6 separate regions of the Homo sapiens genome follow, and regions 1, 2, 3, 5 and 6 are each linked to region 4. The links are contacts of gene promoters, found by promoter capture Hi-C in blood cells and fetal thymus (Javierre and others, 2016). All regions are on one chromosome and are shown on one strand. The core of a region is centred on a gene start or on the middle of the fragment in contact, and the rest is flanking DNA. Distances in the headings are between cores, read along the strand shown. Region 1 has its middle 17 kb from the start of NARS2. Region 2 overlaps GAB2 (GRB2 associated binding protein 2). Region 3 overlaps GAB2 (GRB2 associated binding protein 2). Region 4 holds the start of GAB2 (GRB2 associated binding protein 2). Region 5 overlaps GAB2 (GRB2 associated binding protein 2). Region 6 overlaps NARS2 (asparaginyl-tRNA synthetase 2, mitochondrial).

Region 1 (3,604 bases), core at 466-2,965, 170 kb after region 4:
AGTATATATCCAAAGAAAATGAAAACAGTATATGAAAGACATATCTGCACTCCTATGTTCAATGAAGCGTTATTTACAATAGCCAAGACACGGAATCAATCTAAATGTTCATTAACAGATTAATGGATAAAGAAAATGTACATGCACACAATGGAATACTATTCAGCTCTTTAAAAGAAGGAAATCCTGTCATTTGTGACAACATGAATGAACCTGGAAAACATTATGCTACGTGAAATAAGCAAGGCGTAGAAAGACAAATATTGCATGGTCTTATGACTCTAAAAACAGTCAATCTGAGATGCAGAGAGTAGAATGGTGATTACCAGGGTCTGGTTATGAGGAATGGGGAGATGCTGATAAAAAGGTACAAAGTTTTAGTTAGACACAAGTAAGTTCGGGTGATCTATTGTAAAAATGGTGACTACAGCTAATAATAATGTACTGTGTACTTGAAAATGGCTAAGAGAGGCTGGGCGTGGTGGCTCACGCCTGTAATCCCAGCACTTTGTGAGGCCAAGGCCGGTGAATCACTTGAGGTCAGGAGTTCTAGACCAGCCTGGCCAAGATGGTGATACCCCATCTCTACTAAAAATACAAAAATTAGCTGGGCATGGTGGCACGTGCCTGTGATTCCAGCTACTTGCAAGGCTGAGGTGGGAGAATCGCTTGAACCCAGGAGACGGAGGTTACAGTGAGCCAAGATCATGCCACTGCACTCCAGCCTGGGCGACAGAGCGAGACTCCATCTCAAAAAAAAGAGAGGAGACATTATGGATTAAAGGAAAAATAAAACACATAGCAATCAAATGTAATGCATGAATGCTTACTTGGATTATGACTTAAGTCAACAGAGAAAAGATATATTTTTTAAAGACATAAAAATAGTTCAACAGCACAGAGTATTATTTTTTGAGTTTCTCTAAGATTGATATTATTTCCTTTTTAAGTGTTTGAATATAATTCATTGTGTAGTCATGTGGGCCTAGAGCTTCCTTCATGAGAAAGTTAAATTAAATTAAATTAATTAATTATTTTAGAGACAAGGTCTTGCTATGTTCCCCATGCTGGTCTTGAACTTCTGGGCTCAAGCAATCCCCTCTCCTCAGTCTTCCAGAGTTCTGAGATTATAGGCATGGGCCACTGCACTCGGCCTATGAGACGGTTTTGAATTACAGATTTAACATGTTTAATAAATATGATGTTGTGCAGATTTTGTATTTCTTTTTCCGTCAGTTTTTGTAAGTTGTATGTTTTGAGAAATTTATCTAAGCAGCTAAATTTCTTGGCATAAAATTGTTCATATTATTCTTTCAGTGTCTGTAGGATCTGTAATGACGTCCTTTAATTCCTAATATTAGTTGATATTGAGGAATTATGCACAAAATTCTTCGCTGTTAAAGATACAATCCTAAAGAATTTATGGGTGAAATGTGATATCTAGAATTTGGTTTTAGATATTTCAGAAAAAAAATAAAACAGTATAGATGGAATAGATGAAATAGGACTGGTAAAATGTTGAAAAATATTGAAGTTGGGTAACATACACAGGAATTCATTGTACTATTCATGTTGGAGATTTTTCTATAATAAAAATGGTATGTAAAAAAGAATGGGAGAAGAGAAATTGGAGACAGGGTTTTCAAGAAGTTTTGTTGTAAGGGGAGCAGAAAAACTGAGGTGGTAACTGGTGGAAGAATGTGGTCATGAAAGCGGACTTCTTTAATATGTGAGAAATAATAGCATGTTTGTCTGGTGATAAGAAAGATCTGATTTTTCCATTAGAGCCCTTAGCATATTAATCACCATTGTTTTAAATTCCTGGTCTAATAATTCTAACATCTCTGCCATATCTGAGTCTGATTCTAATGCTTGCTCTGTCTCTTCAAACTGTGTTTTTTTTTTTGTCTTTTAGTTTATCTTGTAATTTTATTTTTTTTAATCTTTATCTTTAATTTTTTTGTTGAAAGTTGGACACAATGTAGTGGATAAAAGGAACTGAGGTAAATACATCTTTATTTTCATTTATTTATTTATTTATTTTGAGATGGAGTCTCGGTCTGTTACCCAGGCCGAAGCGCAGAGGCGTGATCTCGGCACACTGCAACCTCCGCCTCCTGGGTTCAGGTGATTCTCCAGCCTCAGTCTCCCAAGTAGCTGGAACTACAGGCACGAGCCATCACACCTGGGCTAATTTTTGTATTTTTAGTAGAGATGGGATTTCACCATGTTGGCCAGGCTGGTCTCAAACTCCTGACCTCAAGTGATCCACCCTCCTTGGCCTCCCAAAGTGCTAGGATTACAGGTGTGAGCCACCACACCCGGCCTGTAAATAAGTCTTCAGTGGGAAGTTGTATATTTATCTTATTTATCTAGTTAGAAGTTAGGCTGTGTTTACTGTTTGTTGTAGCTGTGGGAGTCAGAGGCAAAAATTTCCTCCGGTGTCCTTGTTTTTGTCTCACCTGTTATCTTTGGATTTCCCTAGAGACTTCTTGGGAGGTCTCAGAAATAACATGCAGTTATTTCTGTTGTACTCCCTTATTATCATACAGATAAGTCCTGTTGATATAGTGGTGAGGTGTGGAGAGAGAGGAAGAATTCTATAGACCTGTGATTAGGTCTTAGACTTTAGCGAGCCTGTGCTCCTGGGCTGCACCTTTCACAAGCGCTTCTCAGTTCTTTCCCGCTTTAGTTGGCAAAAAGGGGCTGGAGTTGGGTATTTTCCTTCTCCTGTGATTAGTCTCTGGTAAAATCCAGTCAGCTAGCCTCTGATAACATAGTTTCCATTGAGAGCAGGCTTTGTTAAGAAGAGCTGGACACTTTGGCATATTTCGAATGGCTATTTTTCCCCTCCTCTTGCCAGAAGCATGAGGATTTTTTTTTTGTTTTTTTTTTTTTTGCTGATCTTCACCCTGAGAACCTGGTAGGGTTCTTGGAGGTAAAACTCACGAAAGTGGAGGTAAAATCCAGTATGACTGGCCACATGCCCTGGAGTTTTTAACTTTCAAACTTGTCCACACAGAGCCTCCAGCAATTCATCTATTATAGTTTGGGTTTTTCGTTCCCCAGTACTCGTTCTTGCAGAGTTTTCTGCCCCTGGGCTTCTATTCCAGTAAGTTGTGATTCTCTGTATTTACCCATTTGTCTCTCCAGTTTGGGGGACAGAAGTGTGCCCTGTTACTTCAACTGATTTTCAGTTTATTTAGCTTTTTTATTGTTGTGAAGACAGGAGTGATGACTTCCAAGCTCCTTACTTGCTAGACCAGAAACCGGAAGGGAAAGATCTAGAAGAGAGGAAAACTTGACACAGGAAAGACAGAAGAAAATTCCTAGTGTTGATGAGTTTGAATTGGTGAAAGGGGGTGTGATCTAGTGTTCAAGTGGAGGACTAGCCTTAGCTGATAACATCATGAGCACTTTATATTAGCACAGAGAAGGTAGAGGACATGGGCGCACATGAAGATTGATGGGTATGTGGGGGTATATATGATAGTGGGAACTTGTAGAGACATCCTCTTTAATTTGCTTCTATTTCACAATGAAATAGGAAGGAAGGTTTTCTGTAGAGAAAGACGGATGGACAGACACACACACGAGAGAGAGA
Region 2 (3,396 bases), core at 21-2,520, 180 kb before region 4:
CCCTGCCCTACAGGCCAAACAACTCTAGTGCCTTGCTTTCCTGGAGCTGCACTAGCCCCCTAGAGTCTGAGCTGTTGAGATACGCCTCTCCCTGGGGAGTAGAGTCATTGCTCTGCTGTTCCCTGCCCCTCTGTAGCCCAAAACACAGCTATACTCTGCCATTCCCGGGTATTTGCTAAGCCTAAAGAGGGACCATGTAGAGTCACTGCTACATGGTGTATCAATCCCTGGGACCCAAGTTGCCATTGAGCCTTATTGACTCAGGTTCCCAAATTCTAGTTGTATCCTCCTCCCTGAAACCAAACCTCCAGAACATCCCTTCTTGCCCAGGGTGAGGCCAGTGCTGTGCTCTGCCTACCAGGGGTAGAATCACAGCTGGCCCCTGACCTGAGCTGATAGAGGGTTCAACAGAGTCATATCATAGATCCTGGCCCGGAGGGCAGTCCACATCCAACCATGCTACGGAGAGTGAACCTGCACCCCAAGACCCAGCTGCCACAATAGGTTCATGAGACTCTGAGCTTAGAAACCCAACGCCACATAAGCTCCAAGCACCAGTACCTAGAACCCAGCACTGCTGCAGCTACTTGTAGGCCATGCCAGACCTGACACTAAGAGGGATCCCCCTGACTGAGTCTCCTCATTTGGGGAAAATGAGAAGAGAAAGACCCAAAAAGCCCTTTACGCTAAGGATATTAACAACCTATGCTACCACCGCTGCTGCACAAACTTCTATAGTCTAGGCCACTGAGGCACTCCCAGTTATTGTTGATGTTGAACATAGGCAAAGAAGCTGCATGGAGACTATACCATTGCACCTAAGTGGAAACACAGTCATCACATCCTTCTCAACTGGAACACTAAAACCCAACTGCAGGTGAAAGTCTTTCTCTAAGAAATCCACTCCAGAAAGTCTGGAAGAGGTGATCTTTCCACCAGAAGCATGGACACTTAACATGAGGACACAAGAAACACAAAAAAGGAAGGAAATATAACACCAAAAAAGCACCAAAGGAACTCTGGCTAGTAACTAGAGCCCAGTGAAAAGGAGATCAACAAATTACAGAAAGGGAATTCAAAATAATGACCTTAAGAAAACTCAATGAGGTACAAGAAAACACACACAATTCAAAGAAATTAGGAAAAAGAATTCACAATATGAACAAAAAAATTCAAAAAAGAGAAAGAAAAAAAAAAACCCAGAAATCTTGCAGCTGAAGAATTCAATGAATGAAATAAAAAACACAACAGAGAGCTTCAACAGCAAACTTGATCAATTAGAAGAAAGAATATCTGAACTTGAAGAAAGGTAGTTTGAAATTACCCAGCCAGAAGGAAAGGGGGAATACAAATGAAAAGAGTGAAGAAAACCTGCAAGACTTATGGAACACCATTAAGATCTACAGGGAGAGACAGACTCTAATATAATCATAGTTGGAGACTTCAACACCTCACTCTCAGCATGGACAGATCACCTAGACAGAAAATCAACAGGGAAACAATTAGATTTAAACTGCGCTTTAGATCAAATGGACCTAACAACACTTCATCCAACAGCTGCAGAGTATAATTCTTCTCATTAGCACATGTGACATTCTATAGGACAGACCTCATGTTAGGCCAAGAGATTTTAAAAGAATTGATATCACATCAAGCATCTTTTCTAACCACAATGGAATAAAACTAGAAATCAGTAACAAGAGGAAATTTCAAAATTGTACAAATACATGGAAAATTAAACAACATGCTCTTGAATGATTTAATGGGTCAATGAAAAAATTAAGAATGAAATTTAGAGCCGGGTGTGGTGGCTCATGCCTGTAATCCCAGCACTTTGAGAGGCCAAGGTGGGCGGATCACGAGGTCAGGAGATCGAGACCAACCTGGCTAACACGGTGAAACCCCATCTCTACTAAAAATACAAAAAATTAGCTGGGTGTGGTGGCGGGCACCTGTAGTCCCAGCTACACAGGAGGTTGAGGCAGGAGAATGGTGTGAACCTGGGAGGCAGAGCTTGCAGTGAGCCGAGATCATGCCACTGCACTCCAGCCTGGGCGACAGAGCGAGACTCCGTCTCAAAACAAAAAAAAAAGAAAAAGAATGAAATTTAGAAATGTCTGGAAACAAATGAAAATAGAAACACAACATACCAAAGCCTATGGAATACAGCAAAAGCAGTATTAATAGAGAAGTTTATGGCAATAAATGCTAATACCAAAAAAGTAGAAAATTTTCAAATAAACATCCTAATGATGCATCTCAAGGAAGCAGAAAAACAAGAACCAAACCCAAAATTAGTAAAAGGGGAAAAAAAAGATCAGAGCAGAAATAAAATTGAGACAAAATAAAACTGATCAACAAAATGAAGTTAATTTTTTCAAAGAATAAACAAAATCAAACCAGTAGCAAGACTGACCAAGAAAAAACGGGAAAAGATCCAAATAAATACAAAATCAGTCTGGGTGTGGTGGCTCATGCCTGTAATCCCAGCACTTTGGGAGGCTGAGGCGGACAGATCACTTGAGATCAGGAGTTCGAGACCAGCCTGGCCAACATGGTGAAACTCCGTCTCTACTAAAAATACAAATATTAGTGGGCATGGTGGCACACGCCTGTAATCCCAGCTACTCGGGTGGCTAAGGCATGAAAATCGCTGGAACCTGGGAGGCGGAGGTTGCAGTAAGCTGAGATCACACCACCGTACTCTCCAGTATGGGCGACAGAGTGAGACTCTGTCTAGAAAAAAAAAAAGAAAAAAAAAGGCTGGGCATGGTGGCTCATGCCTGTAATCTCAGCACTTTGGGAGGCAGAGGCAAGTGGACTGCTTGAGGTCAGGAGTTAGAGACCAACCTGGCCAACATGGCAAAACTTTGTCTCTACTAAAAATAGAAAAATTAGCCAGGAGTGGTGGTGGGCGCCTGTAGTCCCAGCTACCCGGGAGGCTGAGGCATGAGAATCACTTGAACCCAGGAGGTGGAGGTTGCAGTGAGCCAAAATCGCGCAGCTGCACACCAGCCTGGGTGACACAGCGAGACTCCGTCTCAAAATAGATAAAGGAATAAAATAAAAAAGAAAAAGGAGACATTGTAACTGACAGCATAGAAATGCAAAAAGGATCATTAAAGATGATTATGGACCAGGTGCAGTGGCTCATGCCTGTAATCCCAGCACTTTGGGAGGCCGAGGCGGGCAGATCACGAGGTCAGGGGATCGAGACCATCCTGGCTCACATGGTGAAACCCTGTCTCTACTAAAAATACAAAAAAAAAATTAGCTGGGCACAGTGGCACGTGCCTGTAGTCCCAGCTACTTGGGAGGCTGAGGCAGGAGAATCACTTGAACCCGGGAGGCGGAGGTTGTAGTGAGCTGAGATCGCGCCACTGCACTCCAGCCTGG
Region 3 (3,587 bases), core at 583-3,082, 140 kb before region 4:
TGCTTTTTTTTTTTTTTTTTTGAGACAGAGTTTCACTGATGTTGCCCAGGCTAGAGTGCAATGGCATGGTCTTGGCTCACTGCAACCTCTGCCTCCCAGGTTCGAGCGATTCTTCTGCCTCAGCCTCCCAAGTAGCTGGGATTACAGGCGCCCACCACCATGCCTGGTTAATTTTTGTATTTGTAGTAGAGATGGGGTTTCGCCATGTTGGCCAGGCTGGTCTTGAACTCCTGATCTTAGGTGATCCACCTGCCTCGACCTCCCAAAGTGTTGGGCTTACAGGCGTGAGTCACCGTGCCCAGTCTGCTTTTTTTTTTGTTTTTTGTTTGTTTTTTGAGACAGGGTCTCCCTCTGTCACCCAGGCTGGAGTGCAGTGGTGCGATCTTGTCTCTGCAACCTCTGCCTCCTGAGTTCAAGCAATTCTCTCACTTCTGCCTCCTGAGTAGCTGGGAATACAGGTGCACGTCACCACAGCCTAATTTTTGTATTTTTAGTAGAGACGGGTTTTCACCATTATTGGTCAGGATGGTCTCGAACTCCAGGCCTCAGGTGATCTGCCTGCCTCAGCCTCCCAAAGTGCTGGGATTACAGGCGTGAAACACTGTGCCCAGCTCCCTGGCCTTTTAATTCGTTTCTTATTCCCCACCCCCAACATTTTTGTTTTTTTTTTTAGGACACAGGGTCTCGTTCTGTCATCCAGGCTGGAGTGCAGTGGTGTGATCACAGCTCACTGCAACCTTGAATTCCTGGCATCAACCAATCCTCCTACCTAAGCTTCCCTAGTAGCTGGGATTACAGGCATGCTACCATGCCCAGCTAATTTTTATTTTTTATCGAAATAAAAATGTTACAGTGAACCATGATTGTGTCACTGCACTCTAGTCTCGCTATGCTGCCCCAGCTGGGGCCCCTTTCCCTCTACCACTTTTTTTTACTGAATATGCATTGCTCTCCATCAGGAATAAAATAAAGGAAAAAAACAAAAACAACCTCCATGAAACCTATAAATGACAAAGATTTGGGGAAAACAGGAAATTCCACTCAGGAAGCAAGAAGATTATACCAAAGAACTTAATAAATAGGGGCTCATTATCCTTCCCCAAGGAAGATAAAAATCACAGAATTCCTAGGTTAGGATATCTAGTTCAGGAATGACTGGCTACATAATTTGCAGAGCCCAGTGTAAAATGAAAACGCAGAACTTCCTGTTAAAAAAACTATTAAGAACTTCAAGATAGTAATAGTGGAGTGTTAAACGAAGTGCAAGACCTTCTAAGGATGGGGCTCTTTGTGACTCCACAGTTCACATGTCCACGAACCTGGTCTTACATCTAGGGGCTCCCTAACCTGGCTGGTCCTCAGAATCACCTGAGGAACTTTTTTTTAAAGAATGAGACATAATTTACACGCCATAAATTTCAGCATTTTAAAGTGTAAAATACAGTGGTTTTTAGTATACTCATGAAAGTGTACAAATATCATCACTATCTAATTCCAGAACATTTTTACCACTCCAAGAAGAAACCCCATACTCATAAGCAGTCGCTTCTCACACTGTCACTCTCAGTCACCACCAATGTACTTTCTGTCTCTGTGGATTTGCCTGCTCTGAGCCTTCATACAAACGGAATCATAAAAAGATGGTCCTCTCTGTCTTCTTTCACTTAACATGTTTTCAGTACTTCATACCATTTTATGGCTTAGTAATATATATGTATATACCATATTTGATTTATTGATGGATATTTGGGTTGTTTCCACTTTTTGGCTATTATGAATAATACTGCTGTGAACATTCTTGTACAAGTGTTTGTGTAAACATGTTTTGGGAATATGCCTGCGAGTAGAATTCCTGGGTCAATTCTACTGCCCCAGAAAAAACTCTGCTCTTCAACCATCCCAGAGAGTTTGAGATGAGCCTAAACAAATGTTAAGGAGCATTTCTACAATTTAACACTCATTTCAAAAAGGTGAGCTACTCTTTTGTGAAGATTATAAAAACCCAAACATAAATCACTGTTTCCTCCTTTTATCTGTCCCCTCCCAAGTAAACATAAATGAACACTGAATCGTCAATAATCATCACAAAGAACCCGCACAAACAAGGGTCAAGTGTGACTGTGCAGGATGGCCTGAAATGGGCTAGGACAGACAGAGATGAAGGAGAGAAGGGACCAAGGTGAGACCTTCCCTATGGGATGGGTGACAGATAATGGGACACAGAGTGCTGGACAGCACAGGGAAGAGAGAAAACAGGAGGGATGAGGAACGGCAGTGGTGTTGAGGCACCTAAGGAAACACCACAAATACCTTTAGCTTTATCACAACCCCAACACTTTTTTTTGGTTTCCAGTTAGAGCATAATTAGGGCCAGGTGTCCCTCTAATATTTGGCCAACCCCTTCACACTCTTTACCCTTTATCTATGAACGCTCTTCCAACAGGAAACCTTAGCTAGAGCCTGCTCTCAATGCTCCAGGAATCCAAGGGCCTCACCTCAACCCCCTATGAGAAAGATCTGTGTGCGTTCTCATACCTGTGCTCTCCTCAGCCTGATTGAAGCCACAGATCTGGCAGATGCTCTGGACCCACTTATTCATGTCCTCTTCTGTCTCAGCCACCAGGTAAAAGGTGCGTTCACTGGTCTTGATGTCAAACACAAAACTATCCTGCAGCTCCTTCTTGTTAAAGGTCAGGCCTGCATCTACCTGCTCACAGAAGTTCAGGTTGATGATCCGCAGAGGCTTCTTGGAGTGATCGTTCTTGTAGTATTCCAGAACATCTGGGTCACCGCTCATCCGGCCACTCCGCAGGATAAACCAGCGTTTCTTCCAGGCCTAAATCATATCAGGAAGGAGTAAGAAGAGGGGGAAGAAGTCATTAGTTATTTCAAAGCTTTTTTCTTTCAGAGACAGGTCTTGCCCTGTTGCCCAGGCTGGAGTGCAGTGGCACAATCAAAGCTCACTGCAATCTTGAACTCCTGGGCTCAAGCGATCCTCCCACCTCAGCCTCCTGGGTGGCTGGGACTACAGACGCACATCACCACGCCCAGCTAATTAAAACATTTTTTTGTAGAGACAAGGTCTTGCTATGTTGCCTAGGCTGGTCTCAAGAGATCCTCCCAACTCAGCCTCCTAAAGCACTGGGATTATAAGTATGAGCCACTGTGCCTGACCTTAATGCATTTTTTTTTTTTTTGAGATGGAGTTTCACTCTTGTTACCCAGGCTGGAGTGCAATGGCATGATCTTGGCTCACTGCAACCTCCGCCTCCAGGGTTCAAGCGATTCTCCTGCCTCAGCCTCCTGAGTAGCTAGGATTACAGGCATGTGCCACCACGCCTGGCTAATTTTGTGTTTTTAGTAGAGACAGGGTTTCTCCACATTGGTCAGGCGGGTCTCGAACTCCCAACCTCAGGTGATCCACCTGCCTCGGCCTCCCAAAAGTGCTGGGATTACAGGCATGAGCCACCATGCCCAGACGACCTTAAAGCTTTTAATAGGTCCTCAGATATCATAGGTTAAAGACGGGGACTGTGGGACCTGCAGGTGCCACATGACCTGTCCCCTTTTCAGATTTCCCAAGTTTC
Region 4 (3,907 bases), core at 816-3,315:
GTTATTTTGAACTAAAGTTGTTTGGGAACAAAAACACCCAAGAAATGGGTCATAGAGTCTGGGTGAGAGTTCAAGGAGCGATAAGTCAAATGTAGATACAGTGTCATACTGTTTGCAAATTGTTTCAAAAACAACTTTCAAGGTTCTTTAGTGTATAGTGTTCAAACTTGAAAATTAAGGGTCACTTTTTTTTTTTTTTTTTTTACTGTGGACACTGTATTCCACTAGCTTGTATGGAAATCTATTTGTATAGATAATTTTTGGAAGCTCTTCGGGACAAAGTTTTTAAATTATTTATAAAATTGTTAATAGTAAATCACTGCTCCTTAATCCTAATTAAAATATTCAACCTTCCTAACGAACTGATACAACCCTGAAGAGGAAAAAAGTTTATTTCTTAATAATTATACTTTGGCTACATAGACACTCCTAAAAATGAGCTTCCGAACTGAGATGAACAATTCACTGCTTCATTCCTCCTATAAATCCACGTCCACTTTCAAAACTCATGTGCTAAATCCTTAGATTTTTTTCCCCCAGCAAACATCTACCTAAGAGCCTGATTTCATTGACACACACTTGTACTCCGCAACAACAACACTTCCTTTGAAAAACAGAATGTCACTTCCTCAGTCCAGAGGCCAGAAGTCCCTTGATTCTGATCTGGGGAGCCAAGACAGGAAATTCTGGTAGGCTTCTGCCTCTCCCCCCATGGACAGCCACTGGTGCAGCTGACAGAGGGCAGGGTCTATTCCGAGCTCCCTTGATGCACTGCAGCTGGAGGCAACGGCTCCCTTCCAGGCTGTGGGAGTGATCCCGGAGTTCGGCACCACAGCCCGTTAAACAAGGGCATTTCATGGGAAACGGAGAGGGAGCAGATGAGAGACCTTGAAACCTTCCAGCAACCTTACCCCCACTTCCAAACTCCCGCGACTACCCCAAGACCATTTCGGCCAAATCTCAGTAACTGGCACCATCTTGTACTTTGACCTCACCAGGCAAGGCATCCTCTGGGGAGAGGGGTTAAAAAAAAAAAAAAAAAAAGCCAGAACTCCACGGCTCAGCGCCACGCTGTTCCACCTCCCCCAGGCTGCCAGTTCCCCACCTAGAGGGAAAAGGCTGTTCCAGCGATCTCAGTAAACACTGTCGGTTGGCAACACCTGGCCGCGGAGAGCCTCGATCTCTCCCGACCCCAGACACCCGGGAGCTGCCCGGTCCCAAACCCGGGCCAGCCACGGGGACCAAACTGCAGTGTCACACCGGGGTCGGGGGGAGGCGCCTGTGAGAGACGAACGGAATAAAGGGAAAGAAGGGGGACAAACAAATGAGTCACTTAATACAAGGGCTGCACATGCCGCTGACGCTGCCGGTGATGCAGCCGCGGACGGAGGGAGGCCGGCGGCCGGGAGGGGCAGGCGGAGAAAGGGAAGGAGAGGGCGTGAGGCGCTCGCCCTTTGTGGGGCCGTCCGCGCGGCCCCACAGCCTACGCCCCCCTTTCCCGCCCTCTCCCCGACCCTGCGGGCTGAAGCTGCTCGGGGCTGCCGCGGAGCCCCAGCCCCGAGAGTCAACTCTCTCGGTCTCCAGAAGCCATCAATACAAAACTTCGACACTGTATTTAGTTCACGAGCAGACCGGCTTGGGAGGCGCCGCAGCCGCACCCGCCTGGCGGAGCAGGAGCCGCAGCCTCAACCTGCCGCCCGCCCCGCCCCTCGGCGGCCCACCTGTGACAGGTGTGCAGGTGCCCCACACGCCCCCGGCCGCTCCTCGCCCCCGGCCCCCCGCGGCTCCGGGCCCGAGCTCCCCAGCCTGCCGCCCCTCCGGGAGTCCCCCGCCCCTCCGCAGGCCCCGGAGCGCCCCCCGCCCGCCCCTGGGCGGCCGCGCCCGCACTCACATAGCGCCTCAACTTCTTCTCGGGAGGCGATTTCCTCAGCCAGCCGGTGCACACCACGTCGCCGCCGCCGCTCATGCTGCCGGCCTGGAGCCCCCCGCCGGGTCGCGCGGACGAGGGCGCGGGCTCGGGCAGCTGGGGCAGCGGCCGGCGGTGCGCAGCTCGCGGGAGGCCAGGGGCGGGGCGGGCGGCCCGGCGGGGACTAGGCGGCGCGGCGCGGCGCGAGCCCGGCAGCCTCGCGCGCGCCCGCTCCCCCGCCCCGAGCGCGCGCAATCCGCACTCTCCGCCCGGCCGCCGGGGGAGCAGCTGCAGCAGGAAGGCCGGCTCGCTCGCCACGCCCGCTCCCGCCGCGCCCCCGAGGCCGCCGCGCACGCGGACGCGGGGCTAGGGACCCGCGAGGATACAGAAAGCCACCGCCGCCGGCGCGCCCCGGAGTCTCGCTTTCTCCTGAGGCCCCAAGCCGCGGGCGCGGAGGCCAGGGAGGCGACCGCGCCCCTGGCGCTGGCGGGTGTGAGGGGAAGGGACTGCGCGCCCTCGGTCGTCGATCGATTTTTCACCGAGCGTCGACGGGGAAGGGATACTAGGGCTGCTCACATTTCCGATACATTCTGCGGGTCAGGTTCCGGCTGAAAGGAGGGACCCCTTCCCAGCAAGAAGCTCCTTAACTCTGGCGTCCCTCGGCGGGAGGAGGAGACGGACCTACTACGCGCCGGAGCCTTTGCTTTTGTAGCTTACAGGATTGTCTTCAGTATTGTTCCTATTTTATGGACAGCCTAAGGGCAAGGGCTTGTACAAAGCCGAGCCAATTTTCCAATTCAGGTGTGTGGGGGAGGAGGGGTCCCGGTCATCTGCTATTCAAAATGAGGGCATTGCCTTAATGGGATCGACCTGGGAGCCTCTCATTGCCTGGAAACCAAGTCCAGCTGACTCCCTCCTACACTGCCTCTGGGAAAACACAGTTTAGTATAGAAAATTCGCATGATTTGTAGAATGGAAGAAGCAAAACTAGTCAATGTATTTCATAACGAATTGGAAGGCAAGGTCAAGTGCAGAAGAACAAGAAATTGGGGTCCAAATTCCCCAACGTTCCCGCTCATTGACACAGGCTATGAGACCTCTGTTTGTAAATATAATGGTATCCCAGATGTACGTGGAAGCACACAACCCCAGCACTTCAGCGGGAGGGGGGAGAAAAAAATCTTTTGTACGAGCTCTTTTCTCATCACAAAGTGTCTCTCTAAGCAGCATTAAAAGGCAGGTCCTCCCTAACTTCTCTGATAAGTGGATAGTAACCTGTTTATTCAATGGGGAACCGTGCTGTGTGGACAGATGAATTGGAGAAGCAGCATCTTGCAGTGCCCCACACAACCTCAGACTAAAGCTGTTTTGTTTATTTCTGTCTCTGTGCAGCTGAGTTGTTTCAAGCAGTTGGACATCATTTGGTCCAAAAGATCTTGATTGGGTTGGGGGAAGTTCACCCTCCTCAATTTGGAAAAGCGAATCCCCTACCACGTACTTAGCTCTTCTAGATACCCTGGGAGTTTTAGCGGTCAGTCCCCTGGATCTAACATTTCACTGACTTTCTTCAATATCCAGTGTGCTGCTGGATGGGAAGTAAAGCCAGAACTGGTAGGCTGGGACCACAGCTCCCTTAACCTTACAATTTAGGGATCCTTAAGTCACGTATGAAGGGCCACCACCAGAATGATGGCCATTTTAACTTCTGGCTTTAAGTACCTTAAATCCCTGTAAGACAAACAACACTTAACGTCTGCCAAATCAATCAGGAGGCGGTGACTTCCAACCAAAATAAAACTATCCTGACTTCATTCACATCTGAGTCATGGTGCCAAGTCCCAGAGATTGCAGAGTCGGAGAAATCTGCATGGTTTGGCTGCAGCTGAGGTTTGTGATGCAAGTCAGGCATACGTATGCCCTATCTTCCCCCAGAAGAGTAGTCTTACGTATCCTTTGATAGTTACATGATTCAATACACAGACTGGAAGACTGTTTAGCAAG
Region 5 (3,772 bases), core at 581-3,080, 150 kb before region 4:
TGTTCAAGACCAGCCTGGGCAACACTGGAAGACGCTGTCTGTCTGTCTCTATATATGTATGTATGTATATATATATGTGTGTGTGTATATGTATGTCTGAGATATATATATATCTCACGCATACATATAAATTAGCTGGGCATTGTGGCAGATGCCTGCAGTCCCAGACTGGGGGGCTGGGGAGCTGAGGTGGGAGGATCACTTGAGCCCAGGAGGTCGAGGTTGCAGTAAGCTGTGACCACACCACTGCACTCCGGCCTGGGCGACAGAGTGAGACCCTGTCTCAACAAAACCAAAACAAAAACCAGAACCAGAACCAGAACAAGGCGATCTTCAATAAACACACTAGAGCAGCAAGTTCTGTTGGAATCTTTCCTCCCTGGGTTAGAAGAATGACCAAATGAGATCCAAATGTAAACAGTTATTTAGGGTACAAGAAATTGTTATCACTTAGTGAGGTTTTCTGGGTTGTGTGTATTTCTGTTTGGGGATAGCAAGTCTATCTTTAGCCATGCACTGTGCTGTTGATTTGCAAGAGGTCAGGTTACAAGCTTTGTTTATACCTATCGTACCCCTTAGCTGCGGCAGACCCTTCTCCTGTTCCTTCGTGTGGGGCTTGGGTTGGTTAGTTGGTCCCATCAAGGATTCATTCATATTTGAAATGAAGCACTCTTGTGATTTACTTAGGGTCTGGAGCAGGTACGAGAGGCACTACTGAGCTGCAGGCCAGCCCCAAAGGGTGGCCTATGCTTTATGAGCTTACATGCAGTCAGAAAGAACAAATTTATACTCGGAGGAGCACTTCAGCCCTCCCCCGAGGAACTTTGGGAACCCATTAGTTTTCCCACAGGAATCAATCCATCAAGTGGGTATATTAAGTTCACATTAATGATGCATTTGACCCTTGTAACCTTTCCACAGAAATATCCAAAATACATCACTGTATTTTGAAGCTAACCAACTTTATAAGAGATAAGCTTTTCCCTCCTTTCACAGTGACTCTGAGACAACTGGCAATTGGTGTAAAACAGAAGCGTCAGACTTATCAGTTGTGGATGCTTATCAAGAATCGTGATCAGCGGCAATAATCACAAGATTGCACCTTAAACTGGTATAGTGTGGATGGCTAGGCTAGGATTCAAAGAGCTCCAGTTTTGCCTAGGGAATTATGAGATCTACATAATTCTCTGAAGGGGAACTTCGGCTTCAGGAGAAGCAGTGTGCTACTGGGAAAGGAACATGCACGTTGGAGTCCGAATCTCAGCTTACTAGTTGTGAAACCTAGGGATGGTACCTGAATCCAAGAGTTCTAATTTGTAAAATTTATAAAACAGCTACCTGAAGAATTGTTCTGGGGAATAAGAAATGACATAGTCCCTGCACATGGGTGCTCCACAAATGGTAGCTGGCCCTCAGCACTGCACTGTGGGAGGTAACCTGGTGAGGGAAAAGATCTTGAACTCTGTGTTCCCAGACCTTCAGGGTTTGACCAGAGGCAGGATCTGTCGCAGAGGGTACAAAAATGGGGTCAGCTGCCCTTCATGTGCTGAGTAGAGGACTTCAGCTACAGAGCCTCGCAGGACCCAGCTTGTAGCTGGCAGCTCTTTCTCAGCCCCTGCCTCCAGTCCCGGGGGTCCCAATAATCTCCTGGTTTCACATCTGTAGTTTCCCTACTCATCTCCCAGACTTGTGTCTTGTTGCCTTGCCATCTCTAGGTTTTTAAAATTGCAGTCCAAAAGGGAGAGTTGTCTTTTTAACACCACTGGGAAGGCCAAAATACTATCTGTACTGAGTGGGCCTGCATACTGAGTACATTATTTGAGCAGGCCTGCCAAAGCATATTATTACACCAGAACAGGGGTCAGCAAACTACAGCCCATACATTACATCTGGTCTGTTTCTGTGGTTTCACTAGAACACAGCTGTATCAACTTATTTACATAATTGTTTATGGCTGCATATATACTACAACAGCAAAGCTGAGTAGTTGCTACAAAGTACAGATGACAAAGCCTAAAGTATTTACTATCTGGCCCTTTACAGAGAAAGTTTGCTGACCCTTAGACTAAAAGTTCTCACTCTGGTTTGCATAAACATGTCCTCCTTCAAAATATTAGCATCTAATTTAAGTTCATCACCAAGGATACAGATTTAAGCTAAAACTGAAACCATCGAATCCCAAATTTATGCTTTGAAATAACCAAGAGAAGAAATGACAAGATAAGCTAGTTTGAAGAGCCCATTAGTATTATTATAAGAAACCATATTCCTTTTTATTAGAGCACACCTTAGGCACAAACAATGTGCTAGTTGTTGGTCAGCATACAGAATTTAAAGATTCAAGAGTCTGGCCGGGCGCAGTCACTCACACCTGTAATCCCAGCATTTTGGGAGGCCAAGGCGGGCAGATGACGAGGTCAGGAGATAAAGACAATCCTGGCTAACACGGTGAAACCCCATCTCTACTAAAAATACAAAAAATTAGCTGGGCATGGTGGTGGGTGCCTGTAGTTCCAGCTAGTAGGGAGGCTGAGGCAGGAGAATTGCTTGAACCCAGGAGGCAGAGGTTGCAGTGAGCCGAGATCGCGCCACTGCACTCCAACTTGGGCGACAGAGTGAGACTCTGTCTGGGGGAAAAAAAAAAAAAAAAAATCAACAGTCTAATATGGTAAACTTGTACTAACAAGCTTAAATCACCAGCTTGTTCTTTCTGATTCTTAACCATTTATTCTTTTTCCATATCACAGAAGCACAGGTCTGGAAATAACCCACGGGATCATTTAGTTTAATATTAATACTTTACTGACAGAAAGCCTACAGTTCAGAGAGATCAAGTGATTTTCTTACCAGTGACTGAGTGCCTAGTCACCTGGGCAAGGATGTCAGTCTCCTGTCAATTTTTTTTTTTTTTTTTAAGTAAAACATCTCATTGGGGGAGCAATAAACATAACTTCTGGGTATATTTTTCTACTGTAAGGAAAATGAGAACAGCTTTTATTTACCAATCTAACATATCTCCACAAAATTCTCTAAAAAGTCCAACATTGTAACTGAAAAAGGTCTGAATTATTATTGACATGCTGTTGTGTTAAATAGTACTGTTTTCATATATTATATAGTACTTCCTAATTTGCTTTGATGTCAATACAAACAAGCCTGCTGGGATCATGACAGAGATTGGACTGAATCTACTGATTAATATGGGGAGAACTGACATATTAACAATACTGAGTCTTCTCCATAACACGATCTCTCTTTCCATATTCTGGGTCTTCTTTAATTTATCCCAGTAATGTTTTGTTGTTTTATGTACAGAGATCTAGGATGGCTTTTGTTAAATTGATTCCTAAGTATTTTATTTTTTGATGCCATTGTGAAAGGAATTTTTTAAAAATTTCTTTTTCTTTTTTTTTTTGAGACACAGTCTCACTCTTTTTGCCCAGGCTGGAGTGCAGTGGCACGATCTCAGCTCGCTGCAGCCTCCGCCTCCCAGATTCAAGTGATTTTCCTGCCGCAGCCTCCTGAGTAGCTGGGACTACAGGCACGTGCCACCATGCCCAGCTAATTTTTGTATTTTTTTTTTTAGTAGTGTCGGGGTTTCGCCATGTTGGCCAGGCTGGTCTTGAACTCCTGACCCTCAGGTGGTTTATCTCCCTTGGCCTCCCAAAGTGTTGGGATTACAGGCGTGAGCCACAGCACCCGGCCAAGACATCTTTGTTTTTGAGTACCACAACGACAAGTGTAATGCCCCTCAAATCAGGAAATTCAGCAA
Region 6 (3,809 bases), core at 892-3,391, 150 kb after region 4:
ATGAAAAGAACAAATTAGAAGTCAAAAGAGATACTGTTTAATAAAATCAGTTTCCAGGGTATTTCTTAAATAGCGCTTTGGAACCAAACTAAGATCCTTTCCTTCTTTATTTCTTAATATAACTGATTTTAATCCACATTATTTCCACCAGGTAAGTGGAATGGTAGGACGGAATCAGAGACATGTAGGTTTGAATCTAGCTCAACTACTTATTAGCCAAGTAACTGAGCTAATATCACTGAAGCTCATCTGTTATTTATCAAGTTTGTATCCATTAGCTGTGAACCACTTCCTACAAATAGGTTAGGATTAATTATGCAAAATATCCACTGTTTGGCACACAGGAGTTCAAAATATTGTAGATATTAAAGATGTACACACAAGGCTGGTGTTCAATTTTAAAATTACCTATATGTCTTGAAAGCCCATATCATTCATAATCAATTGGTGCAATTCATTACTATTATCAACGTGCTACTTCCATCTAGCAGAGTAGTAAAGATTTACAAAAAATTTGAAAGAAAATTATGGCTCCACATTGAAATATGTCTACACTGCTCACATTCATGTTACAAGATTAAGACAGACACATCCTTTCAGACAAAAATCAAAGTTTTAATTAAAAAGATAACAGAGAAGCTAAAAAAGAGCTACACTGGCAGCCTGTTTCTTTCAGTCTCATCCATTCTAAGTCTTGTACAAATACAAACTTTTATGTCGTATAGAAACAAGCACTATACTTACTAAAAGTGAAAATGTGACCATATCATAATTCTAGGGGTCAGAATTCCCTAATGTTGGAATACTTCAAAATGATACTGAATCAGAGGGCTTCAGGGAAGATGAAGCCATCAACACCAACAGAAGCCAAGGAAGAACAATTTAAGAATATAGTAGTCCCCCACTTACCCACAGGGGATATGTTCCAAGACCCCCAGTGGACGCCTAAAACCACGGACAGTATCAAACCATATAAACATTATGTTTTTTCTTCCACAACAATGGCCAGGTAGTGTATAAAGTACAGATAAGCAGGACAAAAGGATGATTCACATTCTAGGCAGGATGGAGCAGGACGGCTCAAGATTCCATGACACAATGAGAATGGCATGCAATTTAAAATTTAAGAATTATTTCTAGAATTTTCCATGTAGTATTTTGAGACCATAGTTCACCGTGGGCAACAAACCGTGAAAAGCAAAACCACAGACAAGGTTGAACTACTACAGTGAAACACACGGCAAATTTTTAGTAATCACAGATCCCTCTAAAAAAAACAAAAAGAAAAATGGTTACCGTCTATATTACGCTCTTGATTTCCAAATTATTCTACACTCTATTTCTCAGAAATCTTAGAACCTGATTTCTGATTTTACATCAATTAGAATTTCTTGGAAATTAAGGATGACATTTTAATAAAAATTGCATTTTCTTCTTTTATTTCCTTACATTTCTTCCTATTATACTGAAAGAATACACAATGAATTAAAATGATGCAATTTTCCTATATTTCCTCATTTTTGTTCATTAAATATTTGAAGACAGGTGTAGCAAAAACACAGAGGATTCAAATGGCTAGAATATAAATTTCAGCTGTGCCACATCAGCTCATAATGTTAAGCAAATCACTTCATCTGGCTGGGCCTCATTTTCTCCACTGTAAATTTAAAGAATTTCATTAATAATCTTTTATTCTCTCTAACCTCTTTATCAAGCTTATATATATGAAGCTAACAGAAGAGTCTTGCAAAAACAGGCATAAACATGTCTTAATACAGAATTTCTTGCCTCTATTCGGCCTAAGCCTTACAATACTACTGATCGGCATCACCCAACAGAACTTTCTGTGATAAATGGAAATATTCTGTGCTATCCAATATAGTAGCCAGTAGCCACATGCAACTACTGAGCACTTGAAATGTGGGTAATGCCACTGAGGAACTGGATTTTTTTAATGAATTTTAATGGATTTAATACCAAACAGCCAAAGGTGGCTAGAGCCTACCATTATTGGATGATCGGTTCTACATCATGCAAAAGTCATTCTTGGCTTTCCTAAGAATGAGCCCACCCTGGTATATCATGGTGGCTGACTGGGCATGCTTGTAAAAGCAGCAAGTTTTAACTGTGACACACACCACAGAGATGCAAAAATCAACACTTACCTCTCACTAAGCTATGTACATAAATAATTTTTGCTACTGCCTCTACAGGTCATATGGCTTGTTTCAATTATCTGTCACAAATGAAATATATTCTAAGTTTCATCTTCCTAATAATCACACTTAAAACAGATTGCTGTCTTAATTAAAGCCTAAACAGCCTCCACAAAAGTGTCAGAAATCATACCTTGGCATCACAATTTCCAATAACTTTAATTTTTTCTGCCTTCAGTTCCACATTTTGCCTTTTGGATGGACTTTTTATCAGCTGCCCTTGTACTTCCACAGAACTCCCAAAATTTAATTCTCTATAGTAACAAAAAACAAGATAAACAAGATATCATTATATACAACCTTCATTTTAATATCAACTTTGCAATAAGAATATTAAAATACTTAATGACAAAAGCTTTTACCCTTATTGGGTTAAATAATCTTCAGAATCTATGGATAATCTGTCGTATAAATAGAGCATAAAGTTATAAAATGAATTCCATAAGCTTTAAAATGGGAATAGAGTTAAGAATTTGTATAATTAATTCAGAATTAAGAGGTTGTACAATTGCCCTTATTAAAAAGTTAGTTGGCCAAAACACTTTTTAAAAGATTACAGAATACATGGGAAAACTGCAAATCAAAATAAAATTTGCCGGGAATTCTCTGTCCTATTTTTGCAATTAAAAAAAAATTTTTTTTTACTTAGTTGACTGGTGATCTAAGCACATAAGGTGCTACTTTCTAGTTAATAAGACTAGGTTCGAGTTCAAGTTCTCCCATAGATTAACTGTATGACAACTATGGAAAGTCATCTAAGCTCATTTAAGAATCATCTATCAAAAAAGGAGCTGGTAAATGATAGTACATCTGTTCTAATTCTTTTTTCTTTTCTTTAAAGAGACCAGGTCTCACCATGCTGTCAAGGCTGGTCTCGAACACCTGGGCTCAAGCAATCCTCCTGCCTTGGCCTCCCAAAGTGCTGGGATTAGAGGCATGAGCCACCACGCCCAGCCCATCTGTTCTAGTTCTAACATTTCATAATTACAGTAAGTATGACAATAAGTGCCTTCCTAATAAACTATTGAAATATTGTAATATAGCAATACAATAAATTTTATTGAAGTAAATAAGTCAGGAGATTCTCCATCCAGTTTTGTTTGCTTGCTAAATATATGCTATTCTTATATAATTTATATAAATAAGATTGTCCACTATTGCATTATGGGTGGGGAAATCTGGTATACTTTCATCAACCTGAGAGGGTAATTTGAGATGCTCTGACTTAAAATATGTACTACCTGACATATATGAATATAAGTATATCCTAAGGTTTCCTGGGAATATCTCAAAGAGACAGTCATCCTACAGAAATCTAAAATCTAGGTCCCATTAGACCCATGTGATTGCTATACTGATATAATCAAAACAATTACAAAGTTGTTTAAAAGGTTACCATTAATATTAGGGCCAGGTGTGGTGGCTCATGCCTGTAATCCCAGCACCTTGGGAGGCTGAGGCAGGCAGATCACTTGAGGTCAGGAGTTCGAGACCAGCCTGGCCAACATGGTAAAATTCTGTCTCTACTAAAAATACAAAAAATTAGTCCAGTGTGGTGTCGCACACCTGTAATCCCAACTACTTGGGAGACTG

The links. Contacts are between HindIII fragments. The CHiCAGO score rates a contact against its expected background, and 5 or more counts as called.
Region 1: a contact is called between a fragment that was not itself captured here and the fragment with the promoter of GAB2 in region 4, in 2 of 17 cell types (M2 macrophages and naive B cells). The highest score is 5.5, in M2 macrophages.
Region 2: a contact is called between a fragment that was not itself captured here and the fragment with the promoter of GAB2 in region 4, in 12 of 17 cell types (neutrophils, M2 macrophages, monocytes and 9 more). The highest score is 21.1, in neutrophils.
Region 3: a fragment that was not itself captured here is called in contact with the fragment with the promoter of GAB2 in region 4 in 11 of 17 cell types (neutrophils, monocytes, M2 macrophages and 8 more); the score reaches 22.3 in neutrophils.
Region 5: a fragment that was not itself captured here is called in contact with the fragment with the promoter of GAB2 in region 4 in 8 of 17 cell types (monocytes, neutrophils, M2 macrophages and 5 more); the score reaches 11.1 in monocytes.
Region 6: a fragment that was not itself captured here is called in contact with the fragment with the promoter of GAB2 in region 4 in 17 of 17 cell types (megakaryocytes, total B cells, naive B cells and 14 more); the score reaches 35.3 in megakaryocytes.

What each region holds. Positions count from the first base shown.
Region 1 is chr11:78,590,537-78,594,140 of GRCh38, forward strand. No RefSeq gene overlaps it. Among named protein-coding and RNA genes, the nearest start is that of NARS2, 17 kb to the left of the region's middle. The HindIII fragment of the contact is 7,888 bases long and covers 1-3,604 here.
Region 2 is chr11:78,240,425-78,243,820 of GRCh38, forward strand. The region is part of intron 3 of GAB2 (GRB2 associated binding protein 2); the gene reads right to left. Among named protein-coding and RNA genes, the nearest start is that of USP35, 53 kb to the left of the region's middle. The HindIII fragment of the contact is 5,982 bases long and covers 1-3,396 here.
Region 3 is chr11:78,278,066-78,281,652 of GRCh38, forward strand. GAB2 (GRB2 associated binding protein 2) reads right to left here. Exons shown (of 10, transcript NM_080491.3): 2 at 2,536-2,836. Among named protein-coding and RNA genes, the nearest start is that of USP35, 91 kb to the left of the region's middle. The HindIII fragment of the contact is 2,120 bases long and covers 773-2,892 here.
Region 4 is chr11:78,415,755-78,419,661 of GRCh38, forward strand. It overlaps GAB2 (GRB2 associated binding protein 2), which reads right to left and starts at 2,066. Exons shown (of 10, transcript NM_080491.3): 1 at 1,892-2,066. The coding sequence starts at 1,966. RefSeq lists silencers at 669-963, 1,426-1,555, 1,626-1,725, 1,836-2,455 and an enhancer at 1,052-1,806. The HindIII fragment of the contact is 5,597 bases long and covers 1-3,907 here.
Region 5 is chr11:78,261,003-78,264,774 of GRCh38, forward strand. All of the region lies in intron 2 of GAB2 (GRB2 associated binding protein 2), which reads right to left. Among named protein-coding and RNA genes, the nearest start is that of USP35, 74 kb to the left of the region's middle. The HindIII fragment of the contact is 1,710 bases long and covers 976-2,685 here.
Region 6 is chr11:78,566,283-78,570,091 of GRCh38, forward strand. NARS2 (asparaginyl-tRNA synthetase 2, mitochondrial) reads right to left here. Exons shown (of 14, transcript NM_024678.6): 3 at 2,350-2,470. Among named protein-coding and RNA genes, the nearest start is that of NARS2, 6.7 kb to the right of the region's middle. The HindIII fragment of the contact is 856 bases long and covers 1,714-2,569 here.